3 separate regions of the Homo sapiens genome follow, and all the other regions are linked to region 1. The links are contacts of gene promoters, found by promoter capture Hi-C in blood cells and fetal thymus (Javierre and others, 2016). All regions are on one chromosome and are shown on one strand. The core of a region is centred on a gene start or on the middle of the fragment in contact, and the rest is flanking DNA. Distances in the headings are between cores, read along the strand shown.

The links. Contacts are between HindIII fragments. The CHiCAGO score rates a contact against its expected background, and 5 or more counts as called.
Region 2: a contact is called between a fragment that was not itself captured here and the fragment with the promoter of CEP164 in region 1, in 1 of 17 cell types (neutrophils). The highest score is 5.8, in neutrophils.
Region 3: a contact is called between the fragment with the promoter of APOA5 here and the fragment with the promoter of CEP164 in region 1, in 9 of 17 cell types (neutrophils, activated CD4 T cells, naive CD4 T cells and 6 more). The highest score is 9.0, in neutrophils.

Annotation. Positions count from the first base shown.
Region 1 is chr11:117,325,809-117,329,815 of GRCh38, forward strand. CEP164 (centrosomal protein 164) reads left to right here and starts at 2,046. Exons shown (of 33, transcript NM_014956.5): 1 at 2,046-2,096. RefSeq lists a silencer at 2,114-2,363. The HindIII fragment of the contact is 8,937 bases long and covers 1-2,501 here.
Region 2 is chr11:116,752,094-116,756,100 of GRCh38, forward strand. All of the region lies in intron 9 of BUD13 (BUD13 spliceosome associated protein), which reads right to left. Among named protein-coding and RNA genes, the nearest start is that of BUD13, 19 kb to the right of the region's middle. The HindIII fragment of the contact is 4,243 bases long and covers 1-3,797 here.
Region 3 is chr11:116,790,100-116,794,106 of GRCh38, forward strand. It overlaps APOA5 (apolipoprotein A5), which reads right to left and starts at 1,780. Exons shown (of 3, transcript NM_001371904.1): 1 at 1,713-1,780; 2 at 1,487-1,598; 3 at 1-968. The coding sequence starts at 1,761. The coding sequence ends at 29. The HindIII fragment of the contact is 6,000 bases long and covers 1-2,714 here.

The DNA.
Region 1 (4,007 bases), core at 796-3,295:
AATAACAGAGAGGGAAACTCCAAAAGAAAATGATATTTATTTAGAAGTAGCATTGCAATAGGTATACACATGCCATAGAGGCTGGGCAAGTAGGACCTTTTTTTTTTTTTTTTTTTTTTGAGACGGAGTGTCGCTCTTGTTGCCCAGGCTGGAGTGCAATGTCGAGACCTTGGCTTACCACAGACTCCGCCTCCTGGGTTCAAGCGATTCTCCTCTCTCAGCCTCCCGAGTAGCTGGGATTACAGGCATGCACCACCATGCCTGGCTAATTTTGTATTTTTTAGTAGAGATGGGGTTTCTCCATGTTGATCAGGTTGGTCTTTAACTCCTGACCTCAGGTGATCCACCTGCCTTGGCCTCCCAAAGTTCTGGGATTCCAGGCATGAGCCACTGTGCCTGGCTCAAGTAGGAATTTTTATTTTATTTATTTTTTTAGACGGAGTCTTGCTCTGTCACCCAGGCTGGACTGGAGTGCAGTGGCTTGATCTGGGCTCATTGCAACCTCCACCTCCCGGGTTTAAGTGCCTCAGCCTCCTGCCTCAGCCTCCTGAGCAGCTGGGACTACAGGCGTGTGCCACCATGCCCAGCTAATTTTTGTATTTTTAGTAGAGACGGGGTTTCATCATATTGGCCAGGCTGGTCTCGAACTCCTGACCTTAGGTGATCCACCCGCCTTGGCCTCCCAAAGTGCTGGGATTACAGGTGTGAGCCACTGTGCCTGGCAAAGTGCTAGGATTACAGATATGAGCCACCAGGCCCGGTCGATAGTTTTTGTTATCAGGTATTCATGCGTGAGAACCCTCTCTTCATGGTCTTCCCTGGCTCCATTTGTCAGGGTTTTAAAACAAATGACTCTATTTTGATTTTGATAATTTTCACAAGGAATATGCTCTGTATATTCCAACAATCTGAGTTTCTCATCCTGGAATCAGCCTCTGAGTGGCACTGGGACTATCCTGAGTCAGCTACATCTCTAGAACCTATCAGGAGCGGCTCTATGAGCTTGGCCTCATCATTTTCCTCCTCAACTAGCAGCATCTGTATTTGTCTGTTTCTCAGTTTTCCTATTGATGTAATGGCCAGAACTTTCTTTGCCCCTCTTAACTTCTCTAGGAGGTTGGAGACATATGAGAGAAAGGAAGATTTGCCCTCCGTGCAAGCAAAACTAAAACTCTTCGGAATTATATTAGTAGCAACCTTTCTGCCCGACAGGGTGTGTGGAGGAGCTACACATTGTGTCACTTTTTTTCTTCTTCAATAGACTCTTTGAAATAGTTATGACAGACATTACTATCCCCATCTTGCAGACATACAAACTGAACCCTGGGCTTTGGTGAAAAGATGGATAGTAGAAAATAGGTTTAACTCCTGGTCAGGTGCTCACTGGTTTAATAGGAGCACAGGAGAGCCAGTTTTTTTGCGGGGAGAGATGGGGAGTGGACGCGTCTCCATTACCTTACATTCACATTTGTTTTGTTGATTAAAGTAACAATGGGTTGATTATTGATGACCACTGTATTATTCACCTGATGTTAATCATACTCCTAACAAATGATCAATTAGATAATTAGATAATTCACATTAGTATAAATACTCTAAATAGTCCTTCTCTGTCCTGGCAGAAATCCTCACGTCTAAACTCGGGGTCCTCTTTTTTTTTTTTTTTTTTTTTTAGTAGAGAAGGGGTTTCACCATGTTGGTCAGGCTGGTCTCGAACTCCTGACCTCAGGTGACCCACCCGCCTCGGCCTCCCAAATTGCTGGAATTACAGGCGTGAGCCACCGCGCCCAGCCGATGAGGTTCTCTTTCAACCTCTTGCGGATTCCCATTATCTATCTTAAACTACACTCTTTCAACCTCTTGCGGATTCCCATTATCTATCTTAAACTACACTCCCATCGTGCAACGGAAAACGGACAGAGCTCCTGCGTGCACCGAAGGGACTTCGAGCCAATCCATTGTCACAGCTCTCAGCCGGCGACCTATTGGCTCCTGCTGGAGGCGGGACTCCCGGTTGCTAGGCGGTACCTTTTCCGGAAGTGTTTGTTGCGCGCTGCAGGGCAACACCCCGGCGTCCCTGGAAGCTGGGGGAGCGGGTGGGTGTTGGGTGGCGTTGGGGGAGCTGCGCCTCGCCCAGAGCCTCGCCCGGAGCCTCGCCCGGAGCCTTCCGGGGTGGGGGATAGTTGAGGACCTCATCGAGGGAGGGGTTGGGCGGCGGGGAAGGGAGCGAGCGTGGCGGGGGACCCGAGGCACGCTCTCGAGCCAACGAGCGTGATGCGCTCGAGTGTGGGCGGGGACTGAGGGAAGAAGTGAAAATCGGACTGCCAGGCGACAGTTCCTCCGTTTGAAATCTCGCCGGCTCCTGAGCGGGCCACCGGGCCCGGGCTGGGGGTCTGGCGGGTGAGTGAGCAGCGGGTCGGGACGCGGGAGAGGGGCACTGGGCACGGGGCCCTGGTTTGCTTGCTCTGTTCATCGTTGGCGAGTGAGGCCAGGCCTTCCGAAGCTTGCTGGGATACTTCTGTGGCAGGCTTCCCCCCGGGTCCAAATCCGGGGCTAGCCCAATCTTATGCCATCTTTGGCCAGCTGGGAAAGTTGGAAAGCTTTTTTGTTTTTTCCTTTTCTTGCATTGGATTTAAAAATGTCCCTCTACCTCTGGCACCGCTCTCCTCACTTGGCTTCAGCGACTCCCTGTCCGTTCTCCTAACTCAGTCCTTGGCAGTAGAAAGCTCCCTTCTACTCGGCGCACTCCATCTCTTGCGTTATCAGCTTTTCAGCGTTGACTCGCCAAACTACTCCAGCCAGACCTCTTTCCTGAGCTCAGACCTGCTTACTGTCATCGTCAGCCTTCCCCGGTCCCTCCGATCTGTTTCTCCTCTTGTATTTTTTTATCTCAATGAAGGGCTTCACCATTCACTCAGCCAAGTCTGTCCCTTTAATTTATTCATCTAATAAATACAGCAAACATTTGTCGGACATGCCCTGTCTTCTAGGCAGTGTAGTAGGTGGGGCTGCCTATTGGACGAGGCATAGAAATGAACACATCTAGAAATGATAGTCACAGTGTTCTGGCTTTAGTGCTCTGATTTCCCTCCTCTCTCCCGAAGTTCAAGTCCTGTATTCTGCCTCTTAATTCCCCTAGAATCTGGCGCTTCCTTTCCATCCTCACAGACACTGACTTAGTTCATAATTTCTTGCTTGTGCTTTCAGGATAACTTCCTAAGTGGTCTCTCTGCCTCAGTTCTTGTCCTCCTGTAATTAGTTCTTATGCAGCTGTCAGAATCATTTATTTATTTTAGAGACAGGGTCTTGGTATGTTGCCCAGGCTGGAGTGCAGTTGGTATTCACCGGTGTGACCCTAGTACACTGCAGCCTCGAACTCTTGCCCTCAAGCCATCCTCCCACCTCAGTCTCCTTAGTAGACGGGACTACAGGCATGCACCACTATTCTTGGCTAGAATCGTCTATCTGACCTACAGATCTGGTCATGCCAGTCTCCTTTGTGAAATCCTGTGATGGCCCCTCATCATTTACAGGATAGAGCCTCTGTTCTTCCAGGCCCTTTATAATATGCTCTTGCCTTTCATTCTAGAGCTCTGTCTTGCCACTCCTCCCACTGTCCCTTGCACTCTGGTCATGTCAGAATGGTTAAGAGTTTGGGCTTTGGAGTCAGACATGGATACTTACATATTCTGCTCTACCGTTTATTAGCTGTGACACCTTGGGCAAGTTTGTTTGTTTGTTTGTTTGTTTTGAAATAGAGTCTTGCTCTGTCGCCCAGGCTGGAGTGCAGTGGTGCGATCTTGGCTCACTGCAGTCTCAGTCTCCTGGGTTCAAGCGATTCTCCTGCCTCAGCTTCCCGAGTAGCTGGGACTACAGGTGGGCACCACAACTCCTGGCTAATTTTTTGTATTTTGGTAGAGACGGGGTTTCACCATGTTGGCCAGGCTGGTCAGGATCTCCTGACCTCATTATCCGCCCACCTCCGCCTCCCAAAGTGCTGGGATTAC
Region 2 (4,007 bases), core at 426-2,925, 570 kb before region 1:
CCACCACGCCCAGCTAATTTTTTGTATTTTTTTTAGTAGAGACGAGGTTTCACCATGTTAGCCAGGATGGTCTCAATCTCCTGACCTCGTGATCTGCCCGCCTCGGCCTCCCAAAGTGCTGAGATTATAGGCATGAGCCACCGCACCCGGCCCCGTTTCTCTTTCAATTAAGAGAGGCTGGGTAATTATCTTATGGGTTTTTCCAACAGATACTATATATCTGTTCCGGAAATATTCCCTTGCAGCAGGCCGAAAAGAGACAAAACTAGAAAAGATGATGAAAGATGAATAACAAAAAGAAAGCAAGGGTGACAAAGGGAAATAAGAGAAGAAATCTAGGATAAAATCAGAACAAGAAGTGGAAAAAAGCAACTGAGAAAAATGAAGACAAATTAAATACTAGTAAAAAAAAACTAGGTCAGGGAGAATTCTAAGTTTTGGGTCCAAAAATTAAAAAACAAAAAACAAAAACTCGGTAGCAGGGAACATCTGTAGGGTTGTGCTATAAAAAGATCTACTTCTGGCTGTATGTATGGCAAATGAGTGTTCTGAAAAATCCTCCTTCTACCAAAAAGCCTACATACAGTGAACTGCAAACGGAACTAGTAAGCTAGCCTGTAACCACAGCTACCCTAAAGATATCTGCCAAGATGAGGAACTACAGTCAACTTATAGATATCTGCCAATATCAGAAAGAAGAGCCTTAAATTTTTTTATTCTGGAGTTGGGGTCTCACTATGTTGCCTAGCCTGGACTTAAACTCCTGGGTTCAAGCGATCTTCCTGCCTCAGCCTCCCAAATAGCTGGTACTACAGACACACGCCACCACACCTGGCTGTTGGATTTTGACGGCACCCCGAGGGACAGAAGACAACGCCTTAGGCCCATATAAGGTGGGGAGACAGATTCTAGACATTGCAGAGTAACCCGAACAGACTAACCTATCCTCAGTTAGCAACTATAAAACCTAGACAAAACAAAAAAAATAGGTATTTGAAGGTGTGGAAGAGTGACCAAAAGTAAGTATGAACTGGATGAAGTCTATATGTGAAAAGAGATTTGCTGGAGGGCAACTTCCCAAACAGCATGGCTCATGAAGGCAGAAAGCCACAGGCTTACTGGCTTGAGGAATTAGTGCAAAGTGGGCAGAACAGCTAGGAAATTAGGGGGGAAATCTTGGAAGAGAAGGAACTACAAAAGAGATGAACCTCAAAATCTACATACAAACCCTAGTCAAATCCTTGGCTAACTGTTAAATGACACATGTGCAGAGAAAATACCATCAGGCCAATTAAAAAAATGGCAGCTAGAAACTAAAAGAACTGAGCAAAGATTGTAGCTGCCGTCCACTGCAAAGGAGACAGTTTGGAGTTCAGCTATGTTAACTACCTGCTAGAATAAAAACTAACACACTTAAGAGGAATACAGTGTAACAGAACTCAAAGTCTCTACAGTGTATCATTCATGATGCGTAGTAACAATTTTAAAAAGTGACCAGACAGGTAAATAAACAGGAAAATGTAATACACACTGAAGAAAAAGCTGTCAATAGAAACCAATCCTGTGGTGAATCCAATGTTGCAATTAGCAGACAGGACTTCAAAGCACTAATTACATATCATAAATATTTTCAAGAAGAGGAAAATGTCTCATAATGAACAGATGGGAAATCTCAGCAGAGAAATGTAAGCTATTAAATGGAAATTTTAGAGTTGAAAAACAAAATAAACCAGCTAAAACAAAAAATCCACAATTGATAGTAACTGATAGAAAAATACAAACACAAAAAACCCAGAATACAGGCGATCTAAGATCTAAACACCTTGACCTCACTGACTTTTATAAAACACTACCTTATATAGCTACAGAATATACGTTCTCTTCAAGTGCAAAGGAAACATTCAGAAGATAGACTATCCACTGGGCCATAAAACACACCTTAACAAATTTCATTTTTATTATTGTTTTTTGATACATGGTCTCACTCTGTCATCCAGGCTGGAGTGCAGTGGTGCAATCACAGCACATTGCAGCCTCGACCTCCCTGGGCTCAGTGATCCTCCCACCTCAGCCTCCACAGTAGCTGGGACTATAGGCGTGTGCCACCATGCCCGACTAATTTTTGTATTTTTTTGTAGAGACAGGGTTTTGCCATGTTGCCCAGGCTGGTCTCAAACTCCTAGGCTCAAGCAATCCGTCTGCCTTGGGCTCCCAAAATGTTGGGATTACAGGCATGAGCCACTGTGCCTGGCCAACAAATTTCAAAAGATCAAAATATTACAGTATATTATCTGACCAAAATGGAATTAAATTATAAGTAAATAGCAGTAAGATATCTAGAAAAGTCCAAATATTTGGAATTAATGCACTCCTAAATAACCCATGGAGCAAAGAATAAACCAAAAGGATAATTAGAAAATATTTTGAACAAAATCCAACATACATTCCTGAAAACAAAACTCTCAGCAAAACAGGAATAGAAGGGAACTTTAACTCCATAAAGGATATCTACAAAAAACCTATACAGCTACAACACATTTAATAAATGTGTTGTAAAAACTAAATGTTTTCTTCCTGAGATTAGGAACAAAGCAAAGATGTCTGCTCTCACTACTTCTATTCAACATCTGCACTGAAGTGCTAGCTAATGCAACAGGGCAAGGAAAAGAAACAAAAAGCATCTAGATTGTAAAGTAAGAAATTAAACTGTATGCAAAGATGGAAGACCCTCTAGGTACAAAATCTGATGGAATCTATAAAAAGCTATTGTACAAAGTGAGCTTTACCTGAAGGAAAACAACTGACAATACAGTGTAACAGAACTCAAAGTCTCTACAGTATATCATTCATGATGTCCAGTAACAATTTAAAAAAGTGACCAGACAGGTAAATAAACAGGAAAATGTAATACACACTGAAGAAAAAGCTGCCAATATAGAAACCAATCCTGTGGTGAATCCAATGTTGCAATTAACAGACAGGAAGGACTTCAAAGCACCAATTACATATCACAAATATTTTCAAGAAGAGGAAAATATCTCATAATGAACAGATGGGAAATCTCAGCAGAGAAATTAAGCTATTAAATGGAAATAGCTCAAGCAATGGAAATGCCAGTGATAACATTTAAACTTTCAAGTGTAAATTAGAATTCTGAAAAACTGTGAACTCTTTAACTTCCCATTATTTAAAGAGTTTTGTGATAAGACCGGAAGTGATGTTAACAAAAGTGATTTTCTGATATTGTATAGTGGAAATATGTCAACATTTGGAAGGTCTGAACAACTCAGCAAACCAATATTTTACAAATGACCAATGCATGATGTTATAAAATCATGCATGGGTAAAAGATCCACTCAAAGTATTAAAAAAATTAATATAACAGTAAGGAAAGTTCTTTGATCTGGTTTCAGGTTCCACATAGCTCACCTTTAAGAAACCAGCACTTGTTGAGTTTTTGTGTAACATTAAGAAATATAATATGCCTTCTCTTTCTAACTACCTATGTGTGAGGCTAAATTTTCTTTCTATACTTCAACTGAACAAATCACAACAGACAAATACAGAGTCAAGTTACCTATTATTAAGTCAGACATTAATGAGATTTGCAAAAATGTAAATCAATGCCATCCTTCTGTTTTTTCACTTGGAAAATGTAATTATTTTTCATTTAAATATACAGTAATTATGTTAACATAATTAGTTTATTTTTTTTTGAATGAATAAATACTTTTTAAATGTCTGAGTTTTAATTTATAATATGGTAAATATCAATATATATAATCCACATCAACAAAAGCTTTTTGAGGTCATCAGTAATTTTTAAGAGCGTAGGCCAGGCACGGTGGCTCAAGCGTGTAATCCCAGCACTTTGGGAAATCGAGGCAGACAATCATATGAGCCCAAGAATTCAAGACCAGCCTGGTCAATGTGGCAAAACCTCGTCTCTACTAAAAATGCAAAAATTAGCTGGATATGGTGACACATGCCTGTAATCCCAGCTACTC
Region 3 (4,007 bases), core at 530-3,029, 540 kb before region 1:
CTGGGAATGGGCCTGGGCAGGTAGATCCTCAGGGGTCCCCCAGATGGCTGTGGCCCTGGTCATGAAGGCTGTGAGTGATGTCTTCCCACAGGTCATCCAGACGGGCCTGCAGCTTGCTCAGAACCTTGCCACTGTCTGTTTGTTGAAACTCTGGGGCGAAGGCACTGTGGCCTGGTGGAGGTGGCGCCAGCTGCTGCTGGACCTCCTCAGTCTCCTGGTCGATGGCGCGAGTGAAGGCAGCTATCTGCAGGTAGGTGTCCTGGCGGAAAGCCTGAAGTCGCTGGCGCACCTCCTCGGAGAGCATCTGGGGGTCCGGGCCGGCCCCTTCCTCAGTCCCAGTGCCTGCAAAGGCTCTGCTGAGCTCTTCGCGCAGCTGGTCCAGGTTCTGCTGGATGCGTGCGTGCAGGGCCTTGGCCTTGAGCGTGAGCTTCCGGGAGAGCACCTGCACGCAGCGACTGAGGCGCGCGGGGCTGGCGGGGGCGTGCGGAGCCACACTGCGGTGCAGCTCCTGCACGTGGCGCCCGATGCCGCTCACCAGGCTCTCGGCGTATGGGTGGAAGAGCTCTTTGAAGCGGCCGGTGTGGTGCACCACGCGGCTCTGCAGTCCCTGCAGCAAAGCCCAAGCCTCGTCCACGCCCCCCAGCAACTGGGCCTTGGTGTCTTCCCCCACCACGCGCAACTGCTCCTGCAGCTCCTGCACGCGCAGGGCCACCTGCTCCATCAGATCCATCGTGTAGGGCTTCAGTTGCTGCCGCAAGCCCTCCAAATTCCAGCCCACCAGCTCGTGCGCCTCTGCCATGTAGGGCTGGAGGCGAGCCTTCACCTCCTCCAACTCCTCCTGCAGCTGCCGCCGCATGCCCACCGGGTCCTGTGGGAGCCGAGGAGCCTCGCTCCCACTCAGAGGCCTCAGCTTTTCCAGGAACTTGTTCATATTGTTGAGGTCTTGCTCAAGGCTGTCTTTCAGGGTCCTGGAGAAGGGGACAGATATCCAGGCCGTCAGACTGCTAGCCTCCATCATCTCCTTTGTCCCCAAGTCATCGCGCACTGATCCTCTGGGGGAACCAAGGACGCAGGGCGTTGGCCCCAGGGTCGAGGGCTCTTGTCCTAGCCCTGGCCAGTAACAACTCACGCACGAAGCACAAACACATTGCCCATACAAATCCAGACCTACAACACTCTCCAAAGAAACATAGATGCGCCACATCATCCTTTGATTCTGGGGACTGCAGCGGGCGTCCTCCCGATTGATCCCAGGTCCCGCGCCTCAGTGAGCAAGGGGGCAACAGCTACGGAGTTGTCAAGGCGGGGGCTGCAGGCAGAGGGCGCTAAAGAGCCCAGGATGGCCGGGATCTGCAGACAGAGCTAGCACCGCTCCTTTCCTCTGTCCCAGCAGCGGCCACAGAGGTTGAGGCAGCAGAGGCAGGTCATCATGGCATGGCCCAGCTGTCTCCTCCCTTCGCCTACACCCCTTCCCCTGGGCACTCACGCGGGCTCGCGAGCCATCTTCTGCTGATGGATCTGCTCCACCCTGCCTTTGTCCCCGCTGGTCTGGCTGAAGTAGTCCCAGAAGCCTTTCCGTGCCTGGGTGGCCGAAAACGCTGTGGAGAGGGACTAGGTAATCAGGGCCTGGGCTCTCCTCCCCCAGGGTGGACAGGGCCCTCTGGCCAGCCTCCACCCACACCCCCACGTTGAAGTCAGGGTCGGAGACCCACCTGAAAGAAGAGCCAGAGCCCAGGTGAGCACGGCAGCCATGCTTGCCATTACCTGCTCTGAGAAGACAGGTGGAGGGAGGCCTGGTTAGGGGAAGAAGGAGACGAAGGGACATGGCGCAGGGGACTTGCCCAGGGGGCCTCTGCAGGGGCAACTGCCCGAAATCCTGTTACCCCTTCCTTGGGCTGGGGAGCACAGAGCTGTTGGGGCTCAAGAGGACTGACCTAGGTGAGTCAAGGAGGCTAGGGTGTCTTCCTCAGACATGGGAAGAGGGCGTGCTCTTGCTACCTCAGTCACATAGCAGGGAGCGTGGTGCTCTAACCCCTTCGCAAAGGTCCCAGACCCCAGGAACAGTTCTCTAGGCCACTTCTACCACCTCTCCCCTGCCCACCTGTCTCCCTCCCTCCCATTTCATGGTGGAAAAACTGAGCCATAATGAGGGCGAAGAGGCAACTCTGCCAAAATGTTCCAAGAGGACGTCTTAGGGGCCACCCCAGGCTCTCCCCTGAGGCCACCTGCAATGCCCTCCCTTAGGACTGTGACCCCCATCCCTCTGCCCCAGCTGCTCACCTGCTCACGTCTGGGCACAGAGAGCAGACATTCTGCTTTATACTCCAGGGCCCTGAGCCTCTGGCACCAATTGCTCTGAGTAAATACCACGTGGAAGTTCAAAAGAAGTTGACCTCAGCTGCCTCCCAGCACTCACCTCCTGCCCTTTCCCTGGCACCCAGAGGGTTAATGAGTGCCCTGGTATCAGGGGCTGCCCCAGTAGAGAAGTGCTTCCCAGGAGCTTTACGGGGGATGGGGCTGAACTCCTCACCCAGTTTCTCCCAAACCCCATGACCTTTAACCTTCCCACTGACCTGCTGGCTGGCCCACCAACAGAGAAGAACCTGTTTGTCTGCCAAGGGCCCCTCTCTTACACAACTACCCAGAGTCACTGTGTCCCAGCCGGCAAGATGGACAGTGTTCACCTACCAGCCAGAACCCGAGCAGCCCCTGAAAGCTTCACTACAGGTTCCGCAGGCATCCTCAGCCAGCATTCATAGGGTTAAAGACCAACCACATCCCTCTTTATGAAACAATCCTGGAACAAGCAAGGGAAGCCAGGCAGGGTGAAGATGAGATGGCAAGAGGCATCTGGGCCAGGGACTCTGAGCCCCAGGAACTGGAGCGAAAGTGAGATTTGCCCCATGAGGAAAAGCTGAACTCCACTCGCAGGGCCTCTGAGGAGAGCAAGCCCAAATGCTCAGATCTTCTCTGATGACACACCCACTCCGTCTACAGTACTCATACACACGTTCACAAGCTCCCGATTCTTGGTCCTAAATGCATCTTGAATCAATCCCCTCTCCTCCATTTCCACTACCATCATTGCACCAGTTGTCTGTCACCTTGATTGCATTCATAGCCTCCAACAGGTCTTTCTACCACACTCCTGCCCATTTAATTCATCCTCCACTGTGGCTCATCCTGACTCATTTCCAGTCTCATCTGCTGCCACATAAAACCACGGCATTCCCTGAGCCTTTATACAGGCTTCCCTCTGCTTGAAATAGCCTATCCCCTGGTGAATATATATTCATTTTTTAGAGTTAGTTTGTATTAGTTAGAATTAGACTTGGCTGCAAGGGACATATATATGTGTGTATATATATACACACACACATGTATATTTTATATTCTTGCATACATATATGTATATATATGTGTGTGTGTATATATACACATATATATATACAAGATACTGCTCTTACCACTCATACTGACATCCCATTGGCCACAAGTTAGTCACATGGCTACACTTAGCTGATATATATGTGTATATATATATGCAAGAGAATAGCTTAAACAAAATGGAGTCTTATTTCCTTCTCATGTAAATGTAGGCCAGCTCGGGCTGCTTTTATCTTGTTGCACTATTATCATCAACAAGACGCTCATATCCAAGTTCCAGCTGCTTCACCTCCAGCTACCAAGTTCACCTCCCAGGGAACAGGAAGGAGGAAAAGGAGAAGGACATGTTCCTTCCTTTTAAAGACACATCCCAGATATTGCCATTACCACTTGTACTGACATCCCATTGGCCACAACTTAGTCACATGGCTACACTTAGCTGAAAAGGAGGCTGGGAAATATAGTTTTTATTTTGGATGGCTGTATGCCTAGCTGAAAAAGGACTCTATTACTCAGGAAGAAGAGAAGAAAGGATTTGAGGGAACAGTAGTAGCCCCTGCTACACAGCTCCAGTATCACTCTGAATGCCTTCTTCGGCCTTCACCTTTTTCTGCTCTGGA